Regions from separate parts of the Homo sapiens genome. Here region 1 is linked to region 2. The links are contacts of gene promoters, found by promoter capture Hi-C in human tissues and cell types (Jung and others, 2019). All regions are on one chromosome and are shown on one strand. The core of a region is centred on a gene start or on the middle of the fragment in contact, and the rest is flanking DNA. Distances in the headings are between cores, read along the strand shown. Region 1 overlaps ARID3B (AT-rich interaction domain 3B). Region 2 holds the start of SCAMP2 (secretory carrier membrane protein 2).

Region 1 (4,171 bases), core at 15-2,514, 300 kb after region 2:
ACTCAGTTGGGTGGAAAGGGTGGAATCCACAACCTAAAAAGTCAGACAGGGCTTTCCACAGAAGGACAGCAGTGTGAAAACAAGCACGCTAGTGTGACCACTATGTGACTATGTGTGAAAATAAACACCCAAGTGTGAGCGCTCGGCTCCACACATGGAGAATGCCTTGGCAGGATGGGGGCTGGGGCTGGTAGGGTCCTCTTGGCTTCTCCAGCTTTGTCCAACCTGCAAGAGAATCTGACAGTCAGATGGTGAGGCCTTGCACAGAGCCCACTAAGTGTGACCCACTTAGCTTAAAATGCCTCCAGCTTGGTGACCACAGAGGTCAGGAAGACTTGCCAGAGCAGGAAAGAAATGAGACACCGAACTCTTTGAGTAATCCCACTGTTGGACCCATTCCACAGATAGGAACTGTCAGTTACTCTATTTAAAGAAAATGTGGGGAAAATAGTTGCCCAGAGAGGAGGTATTTTCTTTCGTCCAGCTCCAAGGCAAGGATGGTCAATTCAGCTGGGGCTGATGTAAAAATGTCCAACGTGCATTCCATTCTTTGTCTTAAGGCAGTTAAACTTTGGTCCCACTTCACAGGATCTTCTGGCTGAGGTGAGAGTAATTCCTGAGCCCTGCCTGCCTTTCGCAGTCTAGCAGAGCCTCCTGCCTCTGCCCACCAGGCAGATTCAACACCTTTCTCCTCTGGGCTCTACCACCTGTGTTCAGTTACTCGTCTGGGTATCTCCAGCCCTGAGCACATAGAAAGCACTGACCAGCTGGGCATGGTGGCTCTTGCCTGTAATTCCAGCACTTTAAGACCAACCTGAGCAATATAGGAAGACTGTCTCTTTCTTGTAGGCTGGAGTGCAGTGGCATGATCTCAGGTCACTGCGACCTCTGCCTCTTAGGTTCAGGCGATTCTCCTGCGTCAGCCTCCTGAGTAGCTGGGACTACAGGTACATGCCAGTACGCCCGGCTAATTTTTGTATTTTTGGTAGAGATGGGGTTTTGCCATGTTGGCCAGGTTGGTCAGGGAGACTCCATCTCTACCAAAAATAATAATAATAATAATAATAATGAAGAGGGAGCACCGATATATCTGCTAAAAGACAGAGATGGGCTCCCCTGTGGGACCTCCAACCCCACAGCTCCTCCGTCTTCCCCTCCCCCTTTCATTGGGTGGGTTACAGGCTTAACCAGTTATTTTCTTGGTTCTTAACTCTGATCAACTGCTGTAAAACATGGCTCACTTATGCAATTCAAGTTTGTGTGCAGCAGGTTTCTTGGCCTATCAATAGAGTATGGGTGTGACTACTAGAAAATTATCAGCCCAGAAATAATTTTTTCTCGGATGCTGACTGTGGCTGACTGAGACTGTAATGGTGGAAGAAAGCAGGGAACAGCAGAGGCAGATGGAGGGTGGGGAAAACAAACCCAAAAAGAGACAGCTCAACATTTTAGGGATCAAAAGAGGTTGATGAGGAAAGCATTTCAGTTGAAGGGTTGCTGCATGCAAGTTTAACCTGCCCAGGGAACAGGCTTTGTTACACCATCAGCAGCAGGCAGCAGTATTATATAGCCCAGAAACGTGTGTGGGAAGTCAACAGTAGCCAGAGTGGCCACTTACTGCCATTTACAGCCTTCTCAGCCTCTCCTACTTGAGAACTGTCTTTTAACATCTTTGATCTCTCCAGGAGCTCACAGGAAACTGATAGTTTGCTCCCAAATACACACCCAAGACTAGCTTTGGCTACTATACCTACATTCAGCTAATTTTCCCCAGGAAAAGAAGGTTGGGGGAAAGAGAAAAGGTAGCAGGAAGCTAGTGTTTGTGTGCCTTCTGCATACTAAGGATTGTACCAGGAGCCTTACAAGCATTTTCTCACTTAATTCTATAATGTAGAAGTGGTTATTTTAGAAATGGGAAAACAATGGCTCAAAGAGCTCAAATAACCTGCTCAGGGTCTCAGAGCTTCTTAGTGACAGTGCCAGGATGTAAACCTAGGTCTGTCTGGCTCTCGCTGTTACACCATACTGACTTGTAGTTTGAAAGAATAACACGAAGTGTTCTGGATAAGGAGATCAGGAAGGGAGAAAAGAAGAAAAGGAAGTGAGAATAAAATCCTCTGTCCAGAGATGCCTGAAATGCCCATGTCATGGCACTGGGCAGCTCCTATCAATGGGAGACTCTTTTATCTTTGCTTTATCTCATGGCTTCACCTGGGCACTTTAGCCAAACGAAAAGCAGCCCTCACACAATGCTTGCCCAGGAGAGTTATCTGGCGGTACTGAAATAAGAATTGCTAACTTTTTACCCCTCCCTCCAAAATAGACCATTCCAGTAGAATGGGCCCATCTTCCCCCAGAAGACAGAGGATCAGGGGAGAGGAGAAAAAGAGAAGAGGGCTACACCTCTGAATGGACCAGAGGAAGATGGCAGCTTACACTGTGACATGCACACACAGGCCTTCAAAAATAATGAATCAAGGTCTGACCTGACTGCTACTCAAAATTAGAATAGTGCTTCTCCAGCATCTCAACCCTGGAACCCATTTCAACAGCACACAGGGGAAATAAACAGACTATCTTTGAAAATCTAAAGGTAGTGAGTGAAGAGAAACTAGGCTTTTTCCTCCTTTCTTCTAAAGCTCCAGAGGGCACAACTAGTGTGATAGGCAGAAGTTACCCTGAGGAAGATTTCAGGTCTACAGAAGGACTTTTTAAAACAAGTAGAACTGCCTGGTAATGGAGTGAGCTTCCCAGGAGGTGGGCAACTTCCTGTCTCTGGATGACTATCTGTATGGCATGTCATGGCGTGGAATCCAACATGAGACAGGGTGGATGAGATGGTCTCTAGGGGCCCTTTCTGTCCTGAGAAGCAAAGACCTGATGACAAGTTTATTCAACACAGATTTCCTGAGAACCTACCCCAGGTAGAGCATTGTGCAAGCTGCTGAGAATACCACTAAAAAAAAAAAAAATTGTTCCCACCACTGGGAGTCTTACCATGAAGTTGGAAAAACAAACTGAACACATATAGCATATAATAGCAAGACAACAAATAGGAAAACCCAAGGTACTCAGGAGGTAGAAGAAAAGGCTGGATGGCTTAGAGGTGGAGGTTAAGCTGGCCTTGAAGAATGGGTTGAAGGGAGATTTGCAGTCTAAATGAGCATGGAGTGGGGTATAAACAAGGCATGTTTTGACAGGGAGGATATAAGGACAGAAAGTCTGAATAGTTAAAGTTGAAAGGGGCTGTGAGATGCCTTGAATACCAGAAGGAAATTTAAACTCTGAACTGTGAACAGTGGGGAGGCAGTGGATGTTTTCTGGACAGGAAAGCACATGATTAAATCAATGTTTTAGACTGCTTTAGTGGCCCATTTTTGTTGAAAAAAAAAATAACAGAAACATACAAATGTACATAGACACCTAATCGGATTGGAACTGGGGGATTTTCACTTTTCCTTTTTTTTCCATTATATTCATTCATGTACAAACACTTGATCACCTAGAATTTACCAGTTATGGTAAAAGGTTCTGAAGGAAAAGGAACAAGACAGATGATCACCTCATGGAGCTTACTGTCTAATGGAGAGAGAGAGAGACAAACAATTACAAAATGCAATTATGCTCTTTTTTTATTTTAAAAATTATATTATTTTCTAGATTAATCTGAACCATTTGTCACGACTTATCATTTGCTTTCCACCCTACAATGAAGATTTGGAACCAGGCTGCACTGAAATCATAGAGAATTTCTCATAGAACGGACACCTTCACAAAATTTATTTAGTCTCTTTTTTTTTTTTTTTGAGACAGAGTCTCACTCTGTCACCCGGGCTGGAGTGCAGTGGTGTAATCTGGGCTCACTACAACCTCCGCCTCCCTGGTTTAAGTGATTCTGGTGCCTCAGCCTCCTGAGCAGCTGGGATTACAGGCACGCGCCACCATGCCCAGCTAATTTTTGTATTTTTTTTTAGTAGAGACGGGTTTTACCATGTTGGCCAGGCTGGTCTCAAACTCCTGACCTCAGGTGATCTGCCCGTCTCAGCCTCCCCAAGTGATGGGATTACAGGTGTGAGCCACTGCGCCTGGCCTATTTAGTCTTTCAATTACAAGTAAGAGAGTAGTATGATTTTTCATTTAATCAAAAATATTTTTAATGCCCCTCAGTAAT
Region 2 (4,276 bases), core at 1,768-4,267:
TGGGGACAGGCAATTTCTAAGGGGATACAAAATGGATCCTTCCCCATCCTCCCACTTGTGTGCAGATATTTCCCGAAGTAAAGCTGAGCTAAACCCTAAAGGATAGTCAGGATTTAGATGGGAGAGGAAGGTGAAAGAAACAGATGACCAGGCGCAGTGGTGTGTACCTGTAGGCCCAGTACTTTGGGAGGCGGAAGTGGCAGGATCAATTGAAGCCAGGAGTTCAACACCAGCTTGGGCAACAAAGTAACACCCTGTTTCTAAATAAACAAACAAAATAAATGGATGCAGGGAAACAGTAAAATAGTTACTAAATGTGTATGATGCATGTGGGCTGGGCACAGTGGCTCACGCCTGTAATCCCAGCACTTTGGGAGGCCGAGGCGAGCAGATCATTTGAAATCAGGAGTTCAAGACCAGCCTGGCCAAGATGGTGAAACCCAGTCTCTATTAAAATTACAAAAAAAAAAAAAAAAAAATTAACTGGGTGTGGTGGTGAGTGCCTGTAATCCCAGCTACTTGGGAGGCTAAAGCAGCAGAATCTCTTGGACCTGGAAGGCGGAGATTGCACTGAGCTGAGATCATGCCACTGTACTCCACCCTGGGTGACAGAGTGAGACTTTGTCTGGAAAAAAAAAAAACCCCAAACCCACAAAAAATAAATTAATAAATGTGTATCATGTGCTTTATACTATGTTAGTGACAGAAACACAACAGTGAGCAAAACAGACCTCAGCCCTACCCTCATGGAGCTTTCAGTCTAGCGGAGGATACAGGCATAAAGAACCACCTATACTAGTATTAATTACAATCTGCAATGGGTATTGTGAAGGAAAAGTACAGGGCAATAGGAGAGCTTATGTTGGGTATGAGGTGATGATGTAACCAAGAGAGTGAAGGGAAGCTACTCCTGAAGAAAGGCATCTGAACTTGCATTTAAAGGGTAAGGAGAGGTTAACCAGAGGATGATAGTGGGGCATGGGTTAAGTGCATACCAGGTAGAAGGAACACATGTGTAAAGGCCCTGAGACAGGAGGGCACAAGGAAGGTTTGAGCAACTGAAAAGAACTTGCATGGCTGGAACAGTGGGTGGGGGTTGGGGGCTAGAAGGGGTCAGAAGGGGAGAAACGTAGGGGCAGATCCTTTAGGACCTTGAAGACAAACTAAGAATTTGGGCCTTTATGATTTTTTTTTTTTTTTTTTGAGACAGAGTTTCACTCTTTTTGCCCAGGCTGGAGTGCAATGTTGCAATCTTAGCTCACTGCAACCTCCGCCTCCCAGGTTCAAACGATTCTCCTGCCTCAGCCTCCCAAGTAGCTGGGATTACAGGTGTGCACCACCACACCCAGCTAATTTTGTATTTTTAGTAGAGATGAGGTTTCACCATATTGGCCAGGCTGGTCTCGAACTCTTGACCTCAGGTGATCTGCCTGCCTTGGCTTCCCAAAGTGCTGCGACTACAGGCATGAGCCACCTTGCCTGGCCTGATTTTTTTTTTTTTTTTTTTAACTGAGACAGGGTCTCACTCTGTCACTCAGCTGGAGTGTAGTGGTGCAAAGATGGCTCACTGCAGCTTTGACCTCCTGAGCTCAAACAGTCCTCCTGCCTCAGCCTCCCAAGTAGCTGGGAGTACAGGCACAGGCCACCATGCCTAGCTAATTACGTGTGTGTGTGAGATATGTATATGTATATATATATATATATATATATATATATATATTTTTTTTTTTTTTTTTTTTTTTTTGTAGAGCCAGGGTCCTGGTATGTTGCCTAGGCTGGTCTCGAACTCCTGGCTTCAAGTGATCCTCCTACCTCTGCCTCCCAAAGTACTGGGATTACAGGCATAAGCCACGCACCCAGCCCTTTATGGAAATTAATTGAAAAATTTTAACAAAGTTCTGTGATAATTTTGCCCCCTTTAAACATATCTTTGATTACAACATGAAGAACAATAGACCAATTAACAGCACTGTATTAGTTCAGGGTAAAAATGACAGTGGCTGGGATTCGGTGACAGCAGAGATGAATAATACCAGACAGATCCAAATAAATAAGGTGGATTTGGCCAGACAGTGGTTCATGAGTATAATCCTAGCATTTTAGGAAGCCAAGGCGGGAGGATCACTTCAGCCCAGGTGTTTGAGACGAGCCTGGGCAATATAGTGAGATCCCCATCTCTACAAAAAATCCATAAATTAGCTGGGTATGGTGGTGACCAGCTGTAGTCCCAGCTACTCAGGAGGCTGAGGTGGGAGGATTGCTTGAGCCCAGGAGCTCGAGGCTGCAGTGAGCCATGATTGCACCACTGCACTCCAGCCTGGGCGACAGTGAGACCCTGTGGGGGGCGGGGGCGGGGGAAAGCGGAGCTGTGGAGAGTGAAGCAGCCACCTCCCCCATGATTGAGGCTGTGTTGCTGAATTCCGTGAGTCACTTCATAAATGTTTGATGTCCAGGTTCAAGTCCCAACTCAGGTCCCAAAGCTGATGGGCCCAGGAACCCTCGTCCCTAAAACGATGAAACGACATCAGAGGGCGAGCAGCCCTAGAAGAAGCAGGCTCAGCTCGGGTGGAGGACTGCTGGATGGTCCTGGCACTTCTCTTTCCCCGAGCACGTTCTGCAGAAGAAGCGCTTTCCTAGTTCTCCCAAGGCCTCTGGCCTCACCTGTCACCCCTGTCCTTTGCCCAGGGATCAGTTTGGACTTCTTCCCAAACTTGGTCTACAGAGAAGTGAAGGGGCTGTTTCCTGTCCCACTTTTGAGAGTTTGCTTTAGAAACATAAAATTGGAAGGTGTCAGATTGATAGGCAGTTGGGAAGGACTCCGGCCACGCCTCTGGCTCCGTAGACGCTCCGCGCAGCCAAGACCCCTGAATCCCCAGCAGAGCGAAGATGTGGACGGAAGCCGAATGCCCACCCACCGCACTATTGTGGGCTGGGCGGGGGGGGGGGGGGGGGGGGCGGAGCGACCCCGGTGCCGTCATAGGGCCACGCCCTCGGGGGAGGGCATCGCGCCTGCGCCAGAACCGCTGCCTCGCTCCCGGAAGTGGAGGGTCTACACGAAGCGCCGCTGGGTCTGGGTGCCCGGAGGCAGCAGCGTTCGCGGAGTTCGCCCGCTGGCCCCCGATCACCATGTCGGCTTTCGACACCAACCCCTTCGCGGACCCAGTGGATGTAAACCCCTTCCAGGTAGAGCCCCTCTCCCGCCATCCAGCTCTCAGATTTCCCTAGGGCCCACGGCCGCCGCCCGGGCCTCTCGCTAGAGCCGGGAGACGTGGCGTAGGAGGGACGGGTCATCTGCCCAATGGGAGAGCGGGCTTTGAGGTCTGGCCTATCGTAACGCGTGAGGGGCGCGACTAGCAGCAGGTGGAACTGCAGAGGAGGCGGGGCGCTGAAGTGTTGGAGACAGTGGGGTCTTCTAGCACCCGGAGGCTGGGCTGTGCTAGGGAAGGGGACTGGAGCAGGTACGGTCGGACCCTTCCGGAAGTCTCCTAGCGTCAGGGAGAAGCGAAATGTGGCTATCGCATTCCCTCATTCTTGGATAGACACCTGTCTTGAGTCACTTTAGAAGAGGGGGTGACAGCAACATATGAGGAGGTGGTGAAGCCTCTGGTGGAGGGGAAAAATGTGGGAAAAGCCCAGGACACCTGCCACCGCTCCACCACCAGCCAAACTAGTGTATAAAGTACAGGAGAGCCCCTGAGATTTGTCAGGGAAAGAAAGATGGGAGAGGGCGGGAAGGTAGCCCAAGTTGAAAAATGGCCTTGATAAGAATTCCACATTTTGGCCATGGGTCTAGTTTGGAGTGGGTTTTGACCAGATAGGAGAGCCCGGGTTAGGGAGAGAGGAGAGGTGCGGGGGACTGTGAAAAATTCTGGACCCACAGGGAACGTTTGTCTGATGGAACTGTGTGTGGTGGCAACATAGTTGAGATGCACTGACGTGTGAGCTGGCCTGACTTTTTTTTTTTTTTTTGAGACGGAGTCTCGCTTTGTCGCCCAGGCTGGAGTGCATTGGCACGATTTCCGCTCACTGCAACCTCTGCCTCCCGAGTTCAAGCAATTCTCCTGCTTCAGCCTCCTGAGTAGCTGGGACTACAGGCGTATGCCACCACACCCAGCTAATTTTCATACTTTTAGTAGAGACGGGGTTTCACCGTGTTGGCCAGGCTGGTCTCAAACTCCTGACCTCAGGTGATCCATCCGCCTCGGCCTTCCAAAGTGCTGGGATTACAGGTGTGAGCCACCACGCCTGGCCTGACCTTTTGAACAGCAATCAAGGA

The links. Contacts are between HindIII fragments. The study calls those that stand out against the background at their distance.
Region 1: a fragment that was not itself captured here is called in contact with the fragment with the promoter of SCAMP2 in region 2 in 1 of the 25 tissues and cell types used here (aorta).

What each region holds. Positions count from the first base shown.
Region 1 is chr15:74,566,238-74,570,408 of GRCh38, reverse strand. All of the region lies in intron 2 of ARID3B (AT-rich interaction domain 3B), which reads right to left. Among named protein-coding and RNA genes, the nearest start is that of ARID3B, 27 kb to the right of the region's middle. The HindIII fragment of the contact is 4,220 bases long and covers 1-3,374 here.
Region 2 is chr15:74,872,106-74,876,381 of GRCh38, reverse strand. It overlaps SCAMP2 (secretory carrier membrane protein 2), which reads left to right and starts at 3,017. Exons shown (of 9, transcript NM_005697.5): 1 at 3,017-3,183. The coding sequence starts at 3,127. The HindIII fragment of the contact is 15,220 bases long and covers 1-4,276 here.